2 separate regions of the Homo sapiens genome follow, and region 1 is linked to region 2. Evidence: promoter capture Hi-C in human tissues and cell types (Jung and others, 2019). All regions are on one chromosome and are shown on one strand. The core of a region is centred on a gene start or on the middle of the fragment in contact, and the rest is flanking DNA. Distances in the headings are between cores, read along the strand shown.

Region 1 (5,214 bases), core at 1,299-3,798, 480 kb after region 2:
CCCAAGTTATTTGGCACCCCTTTTATCAAGAAGTGGGGTCTATCTTTTGTCTATTTGTAACTGAGTGGACTAGTAACTCTATTGACCAAGAGAGTATAGCAGAAGTGATGCTGGCTTCCTGGCTGAATCAGGAGGCTAAACCATAAAAGATGATGTGGTTTCTATGTTATTTGCCCAAACTTTTATACTTAGAGCCCTGACCCACCATGTGAGAAGTTTGACTACTTTGAGGCCACCATGCTATGAGGGAGCCAGGCCACATGGGAAGGCTACACATACACACTCTGTTGGAAGTCCTAGTCTGAGTTGTCCTAGCCAGGGCTCTAGACATGAGAGTGAACAAGCATTCAGATGATTCTAGCCCCAAGTTGTTTAGTTGCCTCCTCAGGTTCAAGTTCTCTCAGTGAAGACTCCAGACATTGTGGAGCACAGATAAATGAACTAGCTGTGCTCTGTTCAAATTCCTGTCTCCCAGAATCCATGTGCATTCTAAAATAATTATTTTAAACCACTACATTTTGGGGTCATTTGTTATGCAACAATAACAACTATAGGAGTTATACCTTTAAATAAATGAAAAAATATGAATGAATGAATGAATGAATGAAATACAGTCATGATTTTTTTACATGGAATTCTGAGGGACATACTTTTTACATGTTGCTGTAGTTTAAATGTTTTTTTCCACAATTCATGTTGAAGTTTAATTGCTATCGTAACAGTGTTGAGAGGTGGGACCTTTAAAAGGTGATTAGGTCATGGGGGCACCACCCTTATGAATGGATTAATGCTATCATTGAGGGAGTGTGTTAATGATCACAGGAGTAGTTTTCTGGTAATAAGGATGAGTTCTGCCCCCATCCTCTCTCTGCATCACAGTTTGCTCACCATGTGATCCTTTCAGTATGTTATGATGCAGCAAGAAGACCCTCACCAGATGCCACTTCTCAATCTTGGACTTCCCAGCCTCCAGAACTGTGAGCCAAATAAATATCTTTTCTTTATAAATTATACAGTCTGTGGTATTATTTTATAGCAGCAGAAAATGGATTAAAGGACATGTTGTCTTAGTTGGCTTGGGCTGCCATAACAAAATATCATCGACTGAGTGGCTTAAACAACAGACATTTATTTCCTGCAGTCCTAGATGCTGAAGTTTGAGAACAAAGAGTGACATTGTCAGGTTCTGGTGAAGGTTCCCTTCCTGGCTTGTAGATGGCCACCTTCTATCTGTGTCCTCACAGGCTAGAGATCAAGTGAGCCCTGCTCTCTTTCTCTTATAAGGACACTAATCCTATCATGGACGCCCCACCCTCATGATCTCGTCTGAACCTAATCACCTTCCCAAGACCCCACCTCCAAATGCCATCACATTACGGGGTAGGTCTTCAACATATGCATTTTGCAGGTAACACAAACATTCAGTATGTGACACATGTATACCTAAAAAAAAATAAGCAAATGCATTCAATGCCTTTGAGGATAATGCCACTAAAGTATGATGCATTTGAAGCCTCTTTGGGAGACTAGGATACTGTACAACACTAAAAATTATAGAGCCCGATATGAGACTACTATGCTATATTCTCTTTGGGGTAAAGCTGCAGTGGTGCATTATTTAGGTCAATAAATGGCTAAAATATGCCTTTCACACTTGTACATGTGAAACACAATCGTAGCTTTAGGTGAATGTGTCATTTTTACTGGTTCTTTGAATTTTATACTACTTTTGATTGTAGCTGATTCATTCTCTCTGAAAGAAAAATTTATCACAAGGGAAAACCTGACTAAAATAAGGTTCAAGTTGGACACTGAAGAATGACTTTTGAATCATAAATTTTATAAAACCATGCCTTTCAATTTGGATTTATCTTTTCCAGTTTACTGAATTACATACCTCTCTCCCTCAAACATAACTTGAACTCCAGCAAATTAGAACCTCTTGGGTTTATAGTAAATAGAGAGAAACACTTATTGACTCAGATACATTGACTGTGTAGCCCATTTTTATTTTATAGATACTAAAGCATTTAATTTTCTTCCTCTAGTGCTATGATTTTCAATCTGTTTTGAATTGCACACTTTCTTCTTATTTGCTGCATTTCACAACATTCTCACTTTCTAAGAGAGCTGTTGGAGCTATAGAGAATAAAATGCTGTAAGACTCATTTTATTTAGAGAGTCATGTCATAATTTGAATTAACTAGAGATGCTCTTACATATCAGAGAAAACTGCTGCTCCAGTATAAGTAGTGAATTTTTGTTATTTTTGTTGAAAAGGATATTTTTCTATAATTTTTATATTCTTTTCTCTCCAGCTACTTCCCTTAAATGCATCTCACTGGCAGGACCTGCTTCACCAGCTTAGTGTACAAATATCATCAGAACTCTTTCATTTTCTGTGTAGTTGCTTGAAAATATTCTTGCCCTTTTTAGCAGGGCATGTAATGTCTCCGTCTTGAAGCTTCATTGCTCTCTAGAATTGCTCATAAATCTTGAGGGGCTCACTTGATTCAAAGGGTAACCCTTTGTGCAAATGCCAATGGAGAGAGAAGTAGCTAGTCAATTACTGCTGGAAATGGTTCCCAAGAAGTCTAAGCAATTTTGCTCTCAGCTACATTGATGTTTCTGTTAGTCATACCAGCTGCCTCACATTAGAGATTCCAGGTTTACCCTCTTTCAGGTTATACTAGTGCTTTTCAACCAATTTTGACCCTCTTGGACATTTGGCAAAGTTTGGGGATATTTTTGGTTGTCACAACTTGGTGGGGGGAAGGGAGTGCTACTGGCATCTCATGGGTAGAAGCCAGGAATACTGCTAAACATCCTACATTGCATAGAACTGTCCCCGCACTGCCATTCCAACATAAAAAAATTATCTGTCCACGTATGTCAAGGATGCTGAGGTTGAGAAACCCTGTTTTTTCCAATATGATTTACACCCATATGATCTGCTACTGCTTCCAGAATTTAGCAGGTTTTAAGACCTCAATCCCAGGTTACATTTAAACCAGGAATGGACCCTCCTGGAGCCCAACATCCTCTGAGTTCTAGTTTGAACCATAGTCACCAATCCACAGCCCACAAACTCCCTTTCCTCATGTTGCATTCCCCTCCATAGAGGCAAGTATCCTTTTTGGCTGATCAATCTCAGTTTTAACCAACCAAGTTTATCACTGAGTTTTTAATGCTATTGAAATTCAGCAGAAAAGAAATTAGTATCAAAATTTCTTTTTCCTCTAGGAGGTTTCTTGGCTCCCTTTGCAGATTTATTCAATGTATGTCAAAGAGCACAAGGGGCATTTTGAAAATTGGGGAGCATCAGTCATGCCACAGAAAATGATGTTATATTCCCATTTTCCAGGGCAGTGGGTGTCCACTTGCCTTACATTTGCATAATCAAGATGAGTTGCTCACAGGACTCTCCATTTGAAACAAGATCTTACCCAAGGAGACTTACTGAGCTTACTAGAGAGAGGATTAGCTGATAATACCCTCCTGATTAAAAAGTAGGTTTTGCTTTCCTACACAGCCTGATCCATCTTTCATTTTTTCATGCCCTGTGATGCCACAAATTGTACTGTATTTCCTTCCAATGCAGCAATTGCTAAAGATACTTGGGAAAAAGGCAGTTTGCTAGACTCAATATAAGAATGACCTCTCTGCTATTCCAGCTCAAGAATTTTCAACTCTTTGCTGTTTGTAGCCACAGCTCCTGGTACAGACAACTTTGCTTTACCCTCTGATGCAGAAGCTTGGGGACCTGTAGGGGTTTGGGTGCTTATATTGGTACAGAGCATAGATTGGTAAAAAAAAAAAAAAAAAAAAAAAAAGTACCCAGGAGCATCTATACTTGTTTCCTGAATTCTGCTAAATTGAGAAGCTATGTTTCCAACATCCTTAGATGGACTAGGGTATAAATAGAATTTTCATGGACTTGCCTCTGATCTCAGTCACTGTTGATGTTTTTGGAAATGCATGGCAGATTCCAAAGAACTGACTAGCAAACAGATTTCTAGAGTAAAATCCATCCATAAATTGGTAGCTGCTTGTGTTCTCACTATTTGAGAGATGGAATTTGGAGCAGAGGACAAAGGGTTGCCTGCTACTATGCATCATTCTGCTCTCTGGGGCTTGGACTCTGAGGGGCTTTGCCATACTAGAGGATTTTCCTGTCAGGGAAATATGGACACTGCCATGTACTGTCCAACTAGGGCCAAACAGAAAAACAGTAGCACTGCAAGGACCCAGCCAACTTCATGACGGTGGACTAGATTTTGTGGATCACAAGTGCCATCATATCTAGTTGCCAGCTTTTAGTAATTCTCTGTGTTATAATTTTCGCCTCTTATCTCTGACACATCTGTAAAATCTTATAATTGTTCCCTTAGAGACTCATCTATGCTGTGGGGGAATTACAGAAAGAATTTATATCCATGCTCGAGATGAGAGGGTAAAGTAAAGAAGAGTAATTTCAGTAGCAAGAATGATGGTATCAGTGGAGATTGCTAAAATTCTCAAAAGGCAAGTAAATTTTAGGAACAATGATTGGGGATCAGTGTTGAGCGTAAGTTTGCCCCTTCCTATATGGAGATTTTCTCTCCTCACTGCCAGCCTGGGTTATTTTTCCAAGGGATCCTGAGAATCACTCACGCTTTCTCCATGATACTAATGTATGCTTGAGACCTTCAAGACTCCCTCCTAATTCAAGTCTCTGCTAACACCAGAAAAGGATCCATCATCATTAACAAGCCTGCCTTCTTTCTTTATCCTTCTAGTGCTTACCACTAGCATAGCTGTTGACACATCATTTTGTCTTTCCTGCTGGGTTTCCATTGCTCAGGGAAGCTCCTGGTGCATAGCAGACACTCAGTAAATATGTTGAGTGATTGAAGGAACAAACCAACACACAAAGCAAAGCCTTCACTGAGTCCTTATATAAGGAGAAGAACTTATGACTGAGAATCTAAAAAACATATGACTGAGATCTAAAAAACACAAACTGATGACTGAGAGTCTAAAAAACACAACCTACTTTCGAATCAGCTGTGTGGATTCAAAGAGCCAGAAATGCTGCATCTGTTAAATTTGGAAAGTCGTCACTAGTAGGAGGGGGTTCCATGGGCCAGTGAAGAGGTCTTTTAGGAGTAGTAGCATTTAGTGTGAAACTGAACTGCTGGCCTCAAATCTTAAATCTGCCATTTGCTAGTTGGG
Region 2 (5,957 bases), core at 2,899-5,398:
TTTGACAACTTTGGCCTGGCAATAAGTTTGGCACAGTTAAGACTTACCTCAGAACCAAATTGCACCCATTATATGAATAATCTCTGGTGACTGCATAAGTAGGGCCAGGCCTCTAGGTCAAGAAGCTATGTGGTAGTAACAGGCATGAGAGTAAAATCAGCTTTTGAACTTCAAATCCCCAGCTGGTGACCAGACATGCATTCAATTACCAGCCTTAGCCAGTGTGTTTTTACCAATTGTGTTCAGACTTCCTTTCACAATCCCAAAGAAAGTATTCATCATTTAAGTTTTGTGTGATCATGAGAAGAATAACATGATCCCAATCTAACCAGAACATGCCAGACAATTTCCAAATTAAGGACATTCTCAAAACACCTAACCAATTCTTCTGCAAACTGCCATAGTCATCAAAAACAAGCAACATCTGAGAAACAGCCATAGCCAAGAAGAACCCAAAAAGTCACGATCACTAAATGCAACCTGGTGTCATGTTGGGATCCTGGACAGAAAAAGAACATTAGGAGCTGAAAATTTAATTCTACACCAAACCTGCACATGCATGTTTATAGCAGCTCTATTCATCACTGTCAAAATTTAGAGGCATCCAAAATGTCCTAGATGAATGAACAAATGAACTCGGGTACATCCAATCAATGGAATTTTAGTAGTAGGTGAATGAATAAAGGGACTTGGATATATCCAATCTTTGGAATTTTATCAGCACTTAAGAGAAATGTGCTATCAAGTTATGAAAAACATAGAGAAACCTTAAGTGCATATTACTAGGTAAAAAAGTCAATATAAAAGGTTACATATTGTGTGATTCCAACTATTTGAAATTCTTAAAAAGATAAAACTGAGGAGACAGCAAAAGGATGAGCATTGCCTGGGGTTGTAGGGGATGGAGTGGTAAGTAGGCAGAACACAGAGAATTTTTAGGGCAGCTAAACTATTCTGTATGATACCATAGTGGTGGGTACCGTCATTATACCTTTCTTAGTTAATTGATATTATGCATGTCATTATACATTTCTCAAAACCCAAAGAATGTACAGCACTTAGAGTGAACCTAATGGAAATGATGGACATTGGGTGATAATGACATGTTAATGTAGGTTTATTACTTACAGCAAATGTACTACCCTGGTTCATGATGTTGAAGGTAGGGGAGACTGTGCCTGCGTGTGGGGAGGGGTATATGGGACTTTTGATACTTTCCACTCAATTGTGCTATGAGCATAAAACTACTCTAAAAAATAAAGTCTGTCAATAATAATAATAATAATAATAAAAACTAGAACAACAGGTAAATCCTAAGCAAGTCTGAATAAAGTATGGACTTCAATTGACAATAATGTATCAATGTTTGTCAGTTGTGACAAACGTACCATAGTAATGTAACAGGTAAATAGGGAACCCAGGTGAGAATTGGAATGATAACTATCTTTGCAATTCTCTGTAAACCTAAAATTATTCTAAAACTTTAAAAAAAAATTTAAAGGGAAGGTATGAAGGGGCAAAGAGAGGAGAATTCCACAATTTATCAGTGTATGCGTACACTGCCTCATTTGTGTTTAGAATGATAGCAGCGGCCTCCAGATAATTCTTCTCTAATTGTGTGTCAGACACTGTGCTTAGTCCCCCTAAGCCTTGCCTCCACATCTGTCCCATGAGGACCTGGGCCGACTTTCCTCCTGGGGTTCTTGTGCAATGGGCCTTTATGTACTCATCCCCAAGAATTACAGAGCCCCTCAGTGCTGGGAGCATGGGGAGGTGGAGGGGCCTGAAGTTACTGGAACCTGCTATGCACTGCGTGGCTGGGGCTCCATGTCCTCTGCAGTCTCCCCAGAGCCACTGGAAAAGGACATCGTTTCCTTAGTTCATGGAGATACGAAGAAAGCTTGGGAAACAGCCTTAGCACAGTGCCTGGCACGCTGTAAGCTCATTGGAGGAAGTGTGCCATTTCTCCCCGTGGACATTCTTAAAGATGTGGGTGGCATGCAGGGCGTCAGGAGCCAATGACACCAACAGAGAGGGGCTCGCATTGGAGCCTGGCCTTGAAGGATGAGGCGGTGTGTGCCAGGCAGAGAAGGAAGGGAAGGGGATCCCAAGTGCAGGGAACAGCAGAGGCAAAGGCAGGAAGTGGGCGCATGCATGGAGTATCTGCAAATGGTGGGACAGGGTTTCAGTGTGGCCAGATTGCAGTGTGTGTGTGCATGTGTGTGTGTGTCTGTCTCTGTGTGTGTGTCAGTGTCACTGTGTGTGATTCTGTGTGTGTGTGCCTATGAGTATGTGTGTGAATGTGTCTAGGTGTCAGTATGTGTGTGTCTCTGTGTGTCTATGAGTGTGGTGTCTTTGAGTGTGTTTGTGTGTGTTTGAGTGTGTCAGTGTGTGTTTGTGTGTGTCTTTGTATGTGTGTCAGTGTGTATGTGTATTTATGTGTCTGCGTGTGAGTACCTGGAAATGAGGTTGGAAGGGCAGGATGAGCCAAGGAGGTGACTGCCCCACAGCCTGCTCTGATGCTGTGCTGCTGAGTCTAGAAGGGAAAGAGCAAAGCAGACGCTGGGATGGGAGTCACAGGAAGGGGAAGGGCCACAAGGAGCCAGTGGGGAATGTGCAGTGTTACCTGGCAAAGCTCAGAGAAGCACTTCCCAGAAAGACCCCGGAGTCCACATGTTTCCTTGTAAATATGTTTTGTGTTCCAACTGCAATCTGCCTCCAGAAAGAATCTGCCTGCCTCCCAAGGATCAAGTAGAATTTTCCATTTTGTAGGAGACTCCCCTTGTTGAGCAAAGCAGCTTTGCCTTGCCTATGTCCAAATAATCCTCCAAAATACCGCATGAGAGAGCCTGTTCGTGGAGGTCAGGGCCTCAGCGGGGTGTTTGTGAGGATAGTGAGGACGGACCCCTGGGTGAGGCAATTTTAGGAGAGAGGCACACAGCTTCAGAAATGGCTTCTTCCAACAGATTCATGCAGAGACTGAGCCTCTGAGTAAATTGGTCAACATCTATAGCTATGACCACGGAATTCTCAAACAGGTGGATCGTTCATAAAATCCAAACACAGTTACAAGTTTTGGCCTGCATAGTGTTGAGCTACAGCTTTATTTTTAGAAAATTTTAATTAGCTGCCAACCAATTTCATATAAACACATCTGGATTTGGGGATGTCATTTTAAAAATCAGACAGTGTGACAATACTGAGCCTAATCCCTGCATTTTCTCAGTCAATTGGAGATGAGTGTTGACCTCTATGGAGGCAGAGACTCTCTAGTTTGCCACAGTCCCCATCACTCCCTATTGCCTTATCTCAAACCCAAAAGTCAGTTGCCATTTAATATCACACTAAACAATAGTTTTCTTATGGCTGAATTAAGGAAAAGTGAACAATTTCTTCTTCTGAAAATCTATGAAAGGTGAGGTGATAATATATAATGAGGGCCACATCTTCCCTGTAGAAGTGAGTTTCTTTTTAAATGCTGCATATGTAAATAACAAATGTCTGTTTTCAAAGTATACAACTTAAGACCCTGTCATGAGGCAAAACGATTCTGCTCCACTTTATGTTAACAGCTTAGCCCAGTAAAAATTTAGTATGCAGCTATAAAGGAGACGTTGTTATTGTCAGCACACTGCAAATGGATGATGGGAGAGGCTAAGTGGTTTGGGCATAGCACTCAGCTAAACACATGCTGTGGCCAGGATTCCACCTGGGTCATTCTGGTGTGGGACTGTGCCTGTAGCAGGCAGGGCAGCCTGAGCTCTCTGAATGAGACCTGAAGGTAAGTATTTACAACAGTAATCTTATATTAAAAATTCCCTCTTTACCAGCCTCTCAGAGCCTGGTAGAATTCCCTGATAAAAAAGAGGGAATTTTTAATGTAAATTTCCCTGCCTCTAGAATTAGGGTATCCTCTGCTTATGTAGTAACTTCAGATGGAAAAAGGAACTCAGACACTACGAAAACTTCGGCAACTTCAGTCACCCATTCAACAAAGATTTATTGAGAGTGGCAGGCAGGAAGAGATCAGACCATGGATGTAGAGAATCTCACTTTTAATTTTGAGATGTTCCTTTTCCTGCCTCTGTGAACTTGGACAAGCTCTTACATATCTCCAGAACCAATTCCTGCTTTTGTAAAAGGGGAGGAATCATTGCACTCCCTACTAGAGCGGATGTGATGAGGGAAAAGGAGAACTCAGGTAAAATGGGCTCAGTAGTTTGGCAGCTCGGATCATGTCATTATAGTTATTTTACTCCTCCATAGACATCACTGCTGGGGTCCTCTCCCCATCAAGGAGGGTCACTGTGAGGCTGAGTTGTCCTCCTATCCTGGCCACAGGGTGGACAGGGAAGGGCCTAGAGGAAGCGTTTGATGGCATGCAGGTAACCCCCCTTTTCACTGGATTACATCCAGCACTTTCCCTGCAGGAACCGGCTCCCTCGGAGGGGCGTGGCTGGGAGGAGCTGTGAGTAACGTGCCACAGTGTTGTAAAAACCCAGTGAGTGTTATAAAAACCCAGTCAGCCTGGCTCCTGTTGAATAGTCTACCCCCCTTGCACTCTACCTGACACAGCTGCAGCCTGCAATTCACTCGCACTGCCTGGGATTGCACTGGATCCGTGTGCTCAGAACAAGGTAAGAGCCTCGCTCCTTTAACAGCTTTATTACCTGCTGCCACTTCTCACTCCACCAAGGGCCTGGAGTTCCTTGGGCCTGCATTCCATCATGGGCAGGTGGGGGCTGAGCCCCAGGGCCGTGAGAAATGACTGGGTGTTTTTCTGGCATATCCAGTCTCCTCTTCACCATTTATTGCTGTTCTCTGCCCTTTTGTGATTGTCTTTCTCCTTCTTAACCCTAGAAGATGGCCAACTTCTAGGGTAGAAATCAGATCAGGACCATTTCCTGGGTCTGCCTCTTTTTATAAAAAATTCTGTGTTTTGTTTTAAATGGAGCACAAATAATACAAATCATCTTATCATTATGTGTTATATGAAACTAAATTGTCATTGTTCATAGTTGTTTTTCTTATTCTTTGGCAATGTTTTTAAAGGGCAGAGTAAATGTGAAAAGCAAAAAGTGATCAACCAGGGGTGACAGAAAGGAATAAGGAGATTGATCTGGCTACCCATACCAGCTTTGAACTTGCCCACTATGAGATCCTGAGCAATTTACTTACCTGTCTGAGCCTTAAGAGTCAGAGCTGTCACCTGGGATGACATATTAATAGCTACCTGGAAGAGCTCTTGTGTGGATTTCACAAGGTGGGAATCAAACCCTAGACCAGTACTTAGCACACAGGAGGTGTCATATAGAAACTGACTTCTCTTCTTCTGTTAAGCATGGGTTTTTATTGTACACATGATCAGATTCATGCAGTTCAGTGTGACGTTGGTGTTCATCCTATTGATTCAATGATTTCTCATGATCCTTGTCTTCGATCTTGTAGTGTGAACTATCTGGTTGAAATTCACCTCTCTCCACCCTGATTCACTTTGCCCAGGCAAATCAGACAACCACCCCACCTCACACCTTTCCTTAAACTCTTACTTCCCCACAAAAAGCTCCCCCACCCCCACAACCCCACCCACCCCACCCAAACCCCAGGCATGTTCAACTCTGGGTCAACATCACCTTTCATGATGCTTACCACATCCTTTCTCATTTTGGGCATCTGTCATGTCTTTTCTCATTTTGGGCATCTGTGTCCATATGGAGTCATGAGATAGAAATCCAGCCCTTTGGAGCTGAAAGTTTGGAGCAGTAACTTGTTTCATATCAGAAACAGAGATGACGGGATAGATTCCCTGATCAATGCTATTTAAATTCTCCCAAAGAGTGGTCTCTAAGCTCTTTCAAATCTGAGGCTTTCTCAATCATGGTGATTTCTTCAACACCTAGTCTGGTGGGGGGCATATAGTAGGTGCTCAGTAAATGCTTGTTGAATGAGTGAATGAA

What was found. The method cuts DNA at HindIII sites, captures the fragments that hold promoters and counts their contacts. A contact is called where the count stands out against the background at its distance.
Region 1: a fragment that was not itself captured here is called in contact with the fragment with the promoter of FGFBP1 in region 2 in 1 of the 25 tissues and cell types used here (IMR-90 fibroblasts).

Annotation. Positions count from the first base shown.
Region 1 is chr4:15,458,676-15,463,889 of GRCh38, reverse strand. No RefSeq gene overlaps it. Among named protein-coding and RNA genes, the nearest start is that of CC2D2A, 8.6 kb to the left of the region's middle. The HindIII fragment of the contact is 4,456 bases long and covers 321-4,776 here.
Region 2 is chr4:15,936,931-15,942,887 of GRCh38, reverse strand. It overlaps FGFBP1 (fibroblast growth factor binding protein 1), which reads left to right and starts at 4,148. Exons shown (of 3, transcript NM_005130.5): 1 at 4,148-4,201; 2 at 4,417-4,637. The HindIII fragment of the contact is 13,154 bases long and covers 1-5,957 here.